Regions from separate parts of the Homo sapiens genome. Here region 2 is linked to region 1. Evidence: promoter capture Hi-C in human tissues and cell types (Jung and others, 2019). All regions are on one chromosome and are shown on one strand. The core of a region is centred on a gene start or on the middle of the fragment in contact, and the rest is flanking DNA. Distances in the headings are between cores, read along the strand shown.

Region 1 (6,157 bases), core at 2,768-5,267:
TGTATTTTGTAAAGTTTTCTAGGTGCTTCTGATGTGCAGCTTGGTTTGTGAAAGTATGTGATGTTGCATAGTGTGGCTGAAACTGGTTTCATTTAAGGGTCCCATCATTGCCAACTCCTGAATATGTCCACTATTTCTCTGAGAATTCCAACTGCTCAGAACTTTGCTTAAGGAGGGGAGGGGACAGCCTCCATCTTTCCATTACATGCATGACTGGACCAAGAATGGAGTCCTGAACCAGTCTAGGCCAGTACAATTTTCTCTCCCAGGAACTTGGAATTTAGACCAAGACTTGAAATGAGTCATGAGTGGGCACTAACTGGAAAGATTTTTTAGAGCTAGGGAAGCCATTTTCCACCAAATGTTCACTAATGGAGACTCTATCTTAAAGGAAAAGTGGAGAGAAGGAAACAGATGGGCAAAGAAAAGTGTCAGCAAGAGACTTAGAGATGGAGAACCATCTTGATTACTTACTTTCCGGTTTTCTTGTCCCTGCCCCTTGTGAGACCCAATTTTACCTCCTGCCTTTGGAGACTATAAGTTACTGCTTCTAGTAAATTGTCTTGTTTGAATGAGTTTCTGTTTTTACAATTAAATAACTTGAGATTAAGGTAATTTAAGCCTAAAACAATTTAGATGGCATCTAAAGAAGCACTTCTAAATCCTGCATTCTTATAGACCAATACTAAATGTCCCACTTCCTATGTGACTGTCTGGTCATGTCCAGCCTTATTTCTAATTGCTGAGACAGAAGTTAAACCCCTCCAGTCAAAAAAAGAATCAGTCTTTTTATCATACACAGGAAAAATATCATAGCTGAATTACTTCCTTGACTTCTATGGAGGGAAAAACTAGCTCATATGTCTGGAATTTAATTTTTCCTAATCCATAGTTACATATCCCACTACTTTCTCCTTATTGATGGAATAGAATATTAGTAATAAAATAGTAATAAAAATGAGTGATAAATAAAATAGAAAATGTCTGTACAATGTTAAAGGATTTTCATTTTTTATACTCTTCACAACCCTATGGGATAGACAAGGATGGTGTCATTAGCCCAATTTCTTAATTTGAGAAAACTAAACCAAAAGTAGTTCATTTTATTTATCAAATATCTATTGAATATTTCTTATGTTCCATGAATATACTTCCCTGTTCTCAGGAGCTTATCTTTTAGCAGGGAAGGCAGATAAGCTATTACCATAAGGTAATCTGTGAGTTAAGAGAAGAACCAGAACAGGCCTTCTAAAGTGAAGGCCCCTATCCCTTGGCTCTAGCTATACCCACAGTCATCTAATTCATTCTAAGTACATGATGAGAATCTTAAAAGATGAGGTACCAGATATAACTTACTTGAGGGAAATTTAATTTCTTTTGTTTTTTTCTACCCTACTGCAAATTCAAAATGCTCCACATTTAACACATTTCGTATTCTCATTCCCCACCCAAAAGAACTGTTGTTCCCCGTTCACAGTTCCACATGGCTGGGGAGGTCTCAGGAAACTTACAATCATGGTGGAAGGGGAAGAGGCATGTCTTACATGGTGGCAGGCATGAGAGAGCAAACAAGTGAAGGGGGAAGAGTTCCTTAGAAAACCATCAGATCTCATGAGAACTCACCTCATAGATTTCCTGATTCATGGTATTGCAGCACCATCAGATTCCCAAGCACTGCTCTTCTTCTCTCACTCTCCCACTTTGAATAAGTGCTGTCAGCTCTCCCTCCTTTTTGTTCCCCATTCCTCTGCTGGAGCCTTTTTTGGGCCACCATTTCTTACCTGGGCCTTTGCAATAGGCTAACCAACATTCCAGCTCTAGGCGTCTTTACTGATTTCTGGCACAAAAATCGGATCATACCATTCCAGCACTTAAAAAGTCATGTTTCTCTGTTTTTAAGGATTATAAAATTCAAAATCTTTAGCATACCACAAAAAACCCTTTGTAAGTTTAGGATACCAGCCAGACCCCTCTCCTGTCATGTCCTACTGCAAGTAGCCTCTTTTCACGGGGTGTCTCACACCTCTGCATATATCATTCCCTTATTCCCTCTTCCTCATATGATCCTGTACTCCTCTCCTCTTTTAGGTAAACTCCTTACTTCTAGTGCTTCAAAGCACAATTTGAATATCAACTCTTTTTAAAGCCATTGTATTAGTCTGTTTTCACACTGTTACAAAGACATACCCAAGACTGGGTAATTTATAAAGAAAAGAGATTTAGATGATTCACAGTTTCACATGGCTGGGGAGGTTTCAGGAAACTTACAATCATGGTGGAAGGGGAAGAGGCAAGTCTTACATGGTGGCAGGCAGGAGAAAGCAAACCAGTGAAGGGGGAAGAGTCCCTTATAAAACCACCAGATCTCATAAGAACTCACTATCACAAGAACAGCATGGGGGAAACAGTCCCATGATCCAATCACCTCCCATCAGGTCCCACCCTCCATAGGTGGGGATTATGGGAATTACAATTCAAGGTGAGATTTGGGTGGGGACACAAAGTCAAACCATTTCAGCCATCCCTGAATGTCTGGCCATCCCATTCTTTAGTATTCATCACATGGTATTGTAATTATTTGCTCATATATCTCTCTCTTCCATAAGGCTGTGAACTCAGCTATGTCTTCTTCCACACCCAGGGAATGCTTGGCTGTCTCAGTCCATTTTGTGCTGCTAAAACACAATAACACAGACTGGATAATTTTTAAATAATAGAAATTTATTTCTCACAGTTCTAGAGGCTAGGAAGTCCAAGATCAAGGTGCCAGCATCTGGTGAGGGCTTTCTTGCTGTATCCTCACGTGGTGGAAGGGCAGAAGAGCAGAAGAGAACACCCACCTCCACAAACCTTTTGATAGCAGCATTAATCTATTCATGAGGGTCACTCTATTCATAAAGGTGGAGCACTCTTGACCCAAATGCCTCCCATTAGGCCCCACCTCCCAATATTCTTGCATTGGGAATTAAGTTTCCAACATATGAATTTTGGGGGACATATTCAGACCATAGCAGTAGCCAGTGTTTAATAAACAAGAAAATGAATAAATAGGCTTAGTAGTGTTATCAGGGACGACAGAAGGGCATGATGCCTTTCTGTGCCCAACCTCCTATCAAGTGCTGCCCTCCCACCACCCAGCACTATGTGCCTATGCAGGAATGTGTCCTTTGAGCAAAATACAGCAAGGAAAGAGGGAGAAAAATCTGTGTTTTCACTTTTTTTCTTTTTCTTTTTAAGAGGTGGGGTCTTGCTGTGTTGTCCAGGCTGGATTTGAACTCCTGGGCTCAGGTGGTTCTCCTGCCTCCACCTACGAGTAGCTGGGACTACAGGCACACACCACAGTGCCAGGTTTTTGTGGTCTCTCTTTAAAGGTGAGTCTGCATTCACCTTTGGAATAGTTCTAGTTGTCATAGATTGAATATCCTATTTTAAAATGCAATATTCTTACAACTGCCTTTGATGAAAGGGAGTTGAGATGGGACCATTGGGGAAACCTCCAGATGACTAGGGGGCAAGTAATTTGATTGCAGTGCCAAAATGCTTCCATTTAAGGAGCCAAAGTTTGCAAATGTGTGTAAACTGATCCAATCTATTCCCAGGATGTGCCTGAAGTAACAAACATATGTAAGTTGATCCAACCTATTTCCGAGGTGTGCCCGGGATATAAATGGTTAACATTGACAAACACACCTTATGAAATCTACCAGCAGCTGAGGGTGCCAGGCACCTCTTCTACCTCCCTGGAAGGCCCAGTGGGGCGGCGTTTCGAAGGTGTCTTCGCCCCTGTCTCCGGCCCCTGTCCCCTCCCGGGACGTGGGCGTTCCCCCTGAACTCGAGTCCCGCCTCTTCCAGGCTGCCGGGGCCTGGTGGGCTGGCCCGCCACGTGGAGCGCTGGCTTGATTCTCGAAAGGGGCCTACGCCATTGCCGCGCCGCAGCTCCAGGACAGGCCCTCGCCCCACGTCAACAGCGTAGGGCCGGCTGCCCAGGTTTACTCTTACGCCACTGACGTAACGTCATCGTGCGGGACGTGGACGGAAGAAAAAAGAGAGTGAGCGAGCGCCGGAATCAGCCCGGCGTGGAGTGCGGACCCGCGGTAGTGCCAGGGGGCGAAGGCGGCGGTGGTGAGGAAGGTACGCGGCGAGCGGCGGGGATGGCTAGGCGCCCGCGTCTCTGCGGAAGCTGTTGCGCGCCCAGGCTCAAGCGCGAGGGGCGTGAGCGCCGGGCCGCTGGAGCGGGGACGCTGCCGGAGCAGGTGCCGGGGCCCGGGGATCTGGCCCATGGGTAGGTGTGGGCCTCGGCCGAGGGATGGCGGCTGCATCGGGCCGCCCAGGGCGCGCTGCAAGACCGTGGCGCGCTCCCATATGCCGGTGCGCGGCCGCCCCGGGATCTACGGATGGCTACGGGCCCTGACCTCCCCGGCCTCCCCTGGGTACACCATGTAAGGAACTGGGCCAAGTGGAGACTTCAGGCATCCGCGGGCCCCTTCTTTCCAAGAGTATGGAGCCTGCACTGGTGGGTGGCGTGGGTGGCGGTGGTGGCAGCGCCGGGATGCCGCGGGTTTTAGCTGGCCGCACGCTGACTCTCAGGGGCCTGGGTCCCTAGTTCCCCGCGGCCCTCCAGGCGTTCATCATCCCCTCCTCAAAGCCAGACTCCCTTTGCAGTATGGCATTCTGTGTATGCTGGGGTCTTCCTGTTACAGCAGGACGCACCCACATACCCCACCTCGTCCTTCCCCCATCATTATCCCCTGCCCTCTGAGGTGGTGAGGCCCATCGGATCTTTGTATTTAAGTGGTGAGCCATATACCGAGCATGTGTTTGTGGGTGAACTGTGCTGGGACTGAGGTTCACTTCTCTGTTCAAATCAGTTAGATAAGGGCATTCTGTTTAGTCTGTAAAGAGATATTGAGAAATGTCTTGAGTCAAAACGTGAAAACTTTCTTCAACTGATGATATGGAGTCTAAACACACACACAGAGTCGAGACACAGTCACACAAATCTAGACACGAGTCTAGATACACACACACACACACACACACACACACTCTCTTTGCTCCTTGGGATCAACTGTGTGCTTCTCGAGGGCGTAATACACTCTGCCTGGTCAGTCAGAGATGGTGGTACAGGGGAGAGGTCAGGAGGCTTGGTTTCTACGTCAGTCTTCAATCTCTTATTTCAGTGACCGTAGGTGTTCAGAGCTTTCAATGACTCTTGGTTAATAGAGAGGTAAACAGTCAGTCAATATATGTGTGTGATTGTATCTAATAGTGAATATTCGTTGAATTCTTTGTTCCCGTGATGGGTCTTGAAGGAAATTAAGGAAAAAATAATTGTAAGGCATCATTAGTGCCTAAAAGACAAAAGGAGGAAAACTGACATTTACTGACCATTTGTTGTACCCAAGCACTTTCCACGCATTCTCTCTTTTAATTCTCACTATAATTTCATGAGGTCCATAGTGTTAGTATCCCTGATTTATAAGTGAGGAAACAGAGGCTTAGAAAAATTGGGTAACTCTTACATATGTAACTAACCTGCACATTGTGCACATGTACCCTAAAACTTAAAGTATAATAATAATAATAATAATAATAATAAAGAAAAATTGGGTAACTCTCCACAAGACACACAGCAAGTGCAGAGCTCGAACCCAAATCTGACCAACTTCAAAGGCCTTGTTCCTCATCGTTTTTGCCATATTGTCAATGGAAAGTTTGTAATCCAGATGGGAAAAGCAGTAGTCATGAGCTATTTAAAAGCTAACCTATAGAATTATATCCAGCTGTGAAGACTAGCCTTGCTGGGGAAGGTTTCTTAGGGAGGTGGAACTGGAATTTGATTGTTTTACCCTTTGGCTCTTCTGTAGTTATTTTGGAGAATTCACATGTAAATAATTGTTTAGCAGCCATTATTGAAGGAATTTATATAAGCAGCAAACTTAGATCACGTGCTAAAATCATACTTCAGTGTTATGAAAAAATTGAAATAACAAAGATCAATTAATACTTTCTGTTGCCTACTAGATGCCATATGTTTTAGAACAGCTGCATCCTGCCAGTCTCTTCTCTGTCCCATTTCAGTGCCTTTGTGCAGTATAAATTGTAAAGCAATGACACCATTCCTAATTTTTCTTCACTATGGGGCTAAATGCTAGTC
Region 2 (6,736 bases), core at 3,406-5,905, 480 kb before region 1:
TGGCATGCACCTGTAGTCCCAGCTACTCGGGAGGCTGAGATGGAAGCATTGCTTGAGCTTGGGAGGTCAAGGCTGCAGTGAGCCGTGATCATGCTACTGCACTCCAGCCTAGGTGACACAGCGAGACCTGTCTAAAAAAACAACAACAAAGGAAGCTGCAGACTGAGGCACAGAATACATTTTTAAATTAGGAGAAATGATCCTTGTTTTCATGCTAAGAGGAAAGATCTTATAAGCATATGTGCGTATAAGCACAGATCTGCAGAAGGATATCCTCCAAACTACTGACAATAGTTTAATTTTTTTAAAAGAAATGACAGCATGGTATAGCAAAAAACAAACCAGAAAACCAAATCAATAGGAGAAAAATCATCAGCTCTCCTAAGAACCCTGACTGAAACCAAGAGGGCAATGTCACCACCACAAGCCTTTATGAGGTCTGCCTATATATTCCTACTCTTGAATTCCAGGAAATCCTGTATCCTTAAAATAATCCCCCCTTTCAACATAAGCTAGCTCACATTGGTTTCTACTGCTTGTAATCAAAGGCTTCTTACATACTACAGAAAGTTGACAAATCAACGATGACTGTGTTTACTTCACAGAAAGGTAGGTTTTGTGAGGACCCTTTAAAGAGTAGCAGGACTTAAAACATGTAAGAAAGAAGCAAAGGCAATCTAAACCACAAGAACAGAATAAAGAAACAATGGAAGAAAAGTATTTTTCTCCTAAGGTACCACAGGGTCTAGATGAAAAAGAGAATGCATGATGGGGAGGTTAAGTGAGAACAGACTATAGAGGACAGATCTGAACTGGAAATGAAAGGTAAACAGAAGCAATTGTTAATTTAAGAACAGAAAAAAGTTATAAAAGCAGTACATTAGAAATATTAGAAGGGTACTAGACAGCAAGATAAACTGGAGAAAGAGTAAAAATAGAAATGAGGAAATTAAGCAACTAGAGTGACAATCCAAATAAAAAGTGAGGAGCCAAGGAACTGGTAATGTTAACATACATAGGTCAGAAATCACGGCTGGGAGCGGTGGCTCATGCTTGTAATCCCAACACTTTGCGAGGCCAAAGCGGGCGGATCACCTGAGGTTAGGAGTTCAAGAACAGCCTGGCCAACATGGCGAAACCCCATCTGTACTAAAAATACAAAAAGTTAGCCGGGCATGGTTGCGGGTGCCTGTAATCCCAGCTACTCAGGAGGCTGAGACATGAGAATCACTTGAACCCGGGTGGCAGAGGTTGGCAGTGAGCCGGGATCACGCCACTGTACTTCAGCTTGGGCGACACAGCGAGACTCTGTCGCAATAAAAAAAAAAAAAAAGAAATCACACATTGGGTCCGGAAAGATTTTTAAAAGATAATTCCCAAAGTAAAATGCCAAAGATAAGGAAGATTTGAAGAGTTCATCAAAAGGCAACATTCCTAGACAGTTATATTTGCTTTCTAAAATAATTAAAAGTCAAAGGCATTCTACAGAGTCTAAAAAGGAAGAATCTATCTGCTACTTAACTATATTCAAGTTGCTTAAACACCAAAAAAAAACTAAAAACTCTAGTTTTAGCTTAGCTATATTCATGACTCAGCATGTAGCTCTCTAAGTTGTCTCATCACATAAAAAACTACTGCATTCCTTAAGTCATTCAATCCTTCTTCTGCAGATACAGGCAAAACAGTCATATGAATGAATATATGAGTGGTGATCAAACCAAAGCAGCATGTAACAGTAAAAGCTTACTGAAAAATATAAGGTTCTGCTAAAAGGAATCTAGAAACACACACACACACACACACACACACACACACACACACACACACACACACCCTAAGAATATTACTTTCAAAGCAGAATCTATTTTAGTGCCCTCAAAATAACTATTATCTATTCATGACTTGAAACAAACATTTTGGGCTTACTTTTTTTTGCAGCTGTTTTAAGTTTTCAAAAAGTTTACCTGAGAGACTAAAGCCTATCACATTTTAAGAGTGCAAGAAATGGTTGTATACAGTTTACATATGTAACCAAAGCCAGCTCCTTCCAAATCACTGTGGTCTAATGAACAACTTAAGCATAGAAAAAGAAATGTAGGCTGGGCATGGTGGCTCAGGCCTATAATCCCAGCACTTTGGGAGGCAGAGGCAGGAGAACTGCTTGAGTCCAGGAGTTCAAGACCAGCCTGAGTAATATAGTGAGACCTCATCTCTACAAAAGTATTTTAAAAATTAGGCAAGTGTGGTGGCATGTGCCTGTATTCTCAGGCACTCAGGAGGCTGAGGTGGGAGGATCCCTTAAACCTGGGTGGCAGAGGTTGCAGCAAGCCAAGCACCACTGCACTCCAGACCAACAGAGCTAGACCCTGTCTCAAAAAAAAAAAAAAAAATGAAGAAGAAAAAAAGAAATGTAGGGTTAAATATGCAAAAGTAATTAAATATGCAAAAGTAATTAAATACAGATCTAGAAATGTTCAAAATTCTAGTGTATCTGTGAGTCACATACCATTCTGGTATGCAATTGATATTGGTATACAATTATAAAGGAGTTTAAAATTAAAAATTAAAATACAGAAGCAGTTCTTGGTTCAGGTAAACCTTATTCTTTATTACTCCCTGAAACTATGACTTCTCACTGTGCCCAATATAAAAGATGCTTACCCACACATACACCTTTATTTACCTTTGTTCTGTTCATATAGTTTTCGGTCACCAGGCATGGCATCTCCTTCCTTCTATCTAAATTCAACACTATTCAAACTTCCTTTCAAATTCTGCTTCTTATAGGGACATGTAACCTTTTACAATACACACTAAATCTCTCCTTTCTCTGAGTATCCACTTAAAGAATAGCCAGTGCTCACCATTTATTACAAATTGCTTTATACTATTACATAATTTCATTATTTTTTACCTCCCCAGATAATTTATAAGCTTCCTAAATGCAAGTTTTACTTACTATTTCTCATTTTTCCCTCACAAAAACCAGAAGGCTGGGTACACAAGTGCCTAACCCATATATTTTTAAGCTATTCATTCTCTCATTTTCAAATCAAATATATGACTATGATTTTAGATTAAATCACTTTCTAGCAAACTTCAAAGAGCATGTAAACTTTTTTGCTGCAATAATTTGGAACTTGGTTTAAAACACAGAGTCAGAAATCACTCCCACAACCCCCCATCTTTTTTTTTGAGACAGGGTCTTACTCTGTCTCCCAGGCTGAAGTGCTGCAATGGCACAATTACGGCTCATTACAGCCTCGCCCTTCTGGGCTCAATTGATTCTCCCACCTCAATTTCCCAAGTAGCTGGGACTATAGGTATGCACCACCATGCCCAGCTAATTTTTCCAATTCTTTTTTTTTTTTTAAGAGATGGGGTTTCACCATGTTGCCCAGGTTGGTCTTGACCTCCTGGTCTCAAGCAATTTGCCTACCTCAGCCTCCCAAAGTGCTGAGACTACAGACATAAGCCACCACACCCTGGCAGAAATCACCTTTTTAATAGGTAGGAATTGGGAGAAAAATCTGAACTAATTTGTCCAAAGTGACATAAGAGCCATTGAATTCAGTATAGAAAAGGAATTATTTTCATCTTTTGCTCTTTTCTTTTTCTGTTTGTCATTTTGCTGCGACAGTGATTTAGAATAGGCAGATTTTGATTTGGAATACATGAGGGGAGGGAAGAAAATCAAAAGATGTACTGCTATTTGCTGGGAGAACATGTTATCATGTGATCCATTCTTACTCAGCTTCAGAAAATAATATAAATGGTTTAATTTTTCTCTAGGTCTACACAGCACCTGCCTCCATGATTAGAAGTTACACTCCCTGGATGTCCCCATCTTACTATATGGCACTAAAATTCATACAGTTCCACAACCCAGAAATCAAGACTCATCCTTGATTCCTCCATCCCTTACTCCCCACATTAATCCATAAGCAAGCCTGGTCAATTCCATCTCAAAACCAGATCTTGGGCCGGGCGAGGTGGCTCACACCTGTAATCCTAGCACTCTGCGAGGCTGAGGCAGGTGGATCACCTGAGGTCGGGAGTTTGAGACCAGCCTGACCAACATAGAGAAACCCCGCCACTACTAAAAACACAAAATTAGCCAGATATGGTGGTGCATGCCTGTAATCCCGGCTACTCAGGAGGCTGAGGCAGGAGAATCACTTGAACCCGGGAGGTGGAGGTTGCAGTCAGCCGAGATCACACCATTGCACTCCAGCCTGGGCAACAAAAGCAAAACTCCGTCTCGAAAAAATAAAAACAAAAACAAAACCAACAGATCTTGTATTTCCCTTCCTCTCTTCCTATCCACTGTCATCATCTTAGTCCAGGCCACCATCATTTCTAACATGAATGAAAACATCCTCCTAACTGGCATCCATGCTTCCACCTTGTCCACCACCCTCCTCTGAGTCCATCCTCCACACAGGAGCAAATGTTCTTCTTAAAATAAAACATATCACAAAGCTCCCCTGCTTAAAGCTCCTTGGTGGTTTCCCAAGTGTCCTACTCTGTTCTGGCTGCTGTAACAGAGTACCATAGACTTATTTCTCACAATTCTGAAGCCTAGGAAGTCTAAGATCAAGGCACTGGCGATTTGGTGTCTGGGGAGGGCCTACTTCCTGGTTCACAGGTGGCCATCTTCTCACTGTGTCCTCACATGACAAAATAGAGCCCTCTGGGGTCTCTTTTATAAGGGTACTAATTCCATTCATAAGGACTCTGCCCTTATGACCTAATCACCTCTTAAAAAGGCCCCACTTCCAAATGCCATCACACTGGAGAATAGGTTTCAATGTATCAATTTGAGTATGGGGAAGGGGGACATAAACATTCAGCCTATAGCAACAAGGCACTTAAAATAAAATTTAATCTCTTTACAAAGGCCTGCAAGAAACAGCGGTATCTGGTCTTGGGTCTTTTTCTTCAACTTCATCTCACACCACTCTCCCCATTGTACATATACTCCAACAAGCTGCCACAGATTCTCAGCTCCTCAAATATTCTTCCTATCCATCCTATCTCAGGCCTTTGCACCTGCTGTTCCCTACTTGAAATGTGCTTTCTTCCATTCTTCAAAAGGCTACATCCTTCTCATCTTTTAGGTCTCAGCTCAAATGCCACCACCTCAGAAGGGCCCTTCCCTATAAACCATCCCTTCCTCAAAAAAAAAAAAAAAAAAAAAATTCGCCACTTTATCCTTTTCTATTTCTTTTTTTGTAACACTTAATATCTCTGGCAATATTTTATTTATTTGCCCATTTATTTTCTATCTGTCTCTACCACCGGAATATAAGTTGCGTAAGGGTGAGAACTACATCTGTAATGTCCTTTACTACATCACCAGCATGTGGGATGCTGCCAGACTTGTAGCTAGCACCACATCTACGTTCTAAGCATTGGGAATATGGCAGTAAACCAAACAGACAAAAATCCCTCCCCTCACGGAGGTAACATTTTACTGATTATTTAGGTAATAAACAAAGTAAGTAAATTATAAAGTATATTCAAAGGCAACAATTGCTACAGAGAAAAATAAAGCAAAGACAGAAAGGCAGAATCAGAGTGTTGTAATTTTACATATTAAGTCAGGGAGCCCTCGACTTGAAAAGGTCTTATTGGAGTCAGTATCTTAAAGAGCTGAGGAAGCCAACAATCCAAGAAAACAAAAGTTAGTGACATGACCCTGAGTGTGCAATGTGCCTAACACATTTGGGGAACAGCAAGAAAATCAGTATGACCACAACAGAAAGCATTAGAGGGAAAGCTAGAAGATGAGGTCAGAGAAGTAACAAGGGGACAGAAACAGGCCCTGATAGAAACTGTAAAGGCTTTGGTTTTATTCTGAATCAGAGAGGAAGCTACTGGAGCATTGTGGGCAGAGAATTACCATGAGTCGAATTACTTCTATCACTTGGGCTGCTATGCTAAGAACAGAGTATTCAGGAGGGATTAAGAGTAAAGACAAAGACTACACAGTACAATTATCCAAGTAAGAGTTGATGGTGGTTTGGCTGAGACAATGAGGCATGGTCAGATTGAATATATTTTGAAGCTAGCACCTACAAGATATCCTGATATGCTTTCTCTGAAAGAAAGAGACATGTCAAGGATAACTCTAGAAGTTCTGACAGCATTGGAAAGAACTGAGTTGCTATTCACCGAGATATAAAAGATTGTTAAAGTAATAGGAAAGTTTATCAAAAGTTCCATTTTAGGCATGTAATATCTGAGATGTCTATTTGACATCCAAGAGGAAATGTGGACTGTGTGGCTGGATATAGAATACAGAGGGCTAGGTGGATGATGAAATTTGGGGAGTTATCGGTGTGTGTATATGTACATATGTACTTTCAAGTACTTGGAGCAGGATGAAATCACCAGGGGGAATAAACAAAAAGAGCAGTCCAAGGCCTGAGCCTCAAGATTCTATAACACATCCAACAGAAAGAGATTAAAAAGAACCAGCAAGTGAGACAGAAAAGAAATGACCAATAAGAGTTAAGGTAAATCAAGAATGTGGTATCCTCAAAGCAAAATGAAGAAAATGTTTACTGGATAAGGGATTGAACAACTCTGTCAAGTAAGAAGATGACTAACTAGACTTAATGTGAAGATCACTGGTACCATGGATTAGAACAGTTTCAGTGGAGTTTTAGAGGAGAAAGGCTGACAAGCTTGGATGTAAGGCAAAATGGGAAGAGAGGAAGTAGTGATGCAG

Evidence for each region. The method cuts DNA at HindIII sites, captures the fragments that hold promoters and counts their contacts. A contact is called where the count stands out against the background at its distance.
Region 2: a contact is called between a fragment that was not itself captured here and the fragment with the promoter of ALDH18A1 in region 1, in 1 of the 25 tissues and cell types used here (spleen).

The regions. Positions count from the first base shown.
Region 1 is chr10:95,654,571-95,660,727 of GRCh38, reverse strand. ALDH18A1 (aldehyde dehydrogenase 18 family member A1) reads left to right here and starts at 4,017. Exons shown (of 18, transcript NM_002860.4): 1 at 4,017-4,131. RefSeq lists a silencer at 4,171-4,280. The HindIII fragment of the contact is 17,710 bases long and covers 1-6,157 here.
Region 2 is chr10:96,137,403-96,144,138 of GRCh38, reverse strand. All of the region lies in intron 3 of ZNF518A (zinc finger protein 518A), which reads right to left. It overlaps LOC124902486 (a long non-coding RNA gene), which reads left to right. Exons shown (of 2, transcript XR_007062254.1): 1 at 1-6,736. Among named protein-coding and RNA genes, the nearest start is that of ZNF518A, 10 kb to the right of the region's middle. The HindIII fragment of the contact is 4,633 bases long and covers 2,339-6,736 here.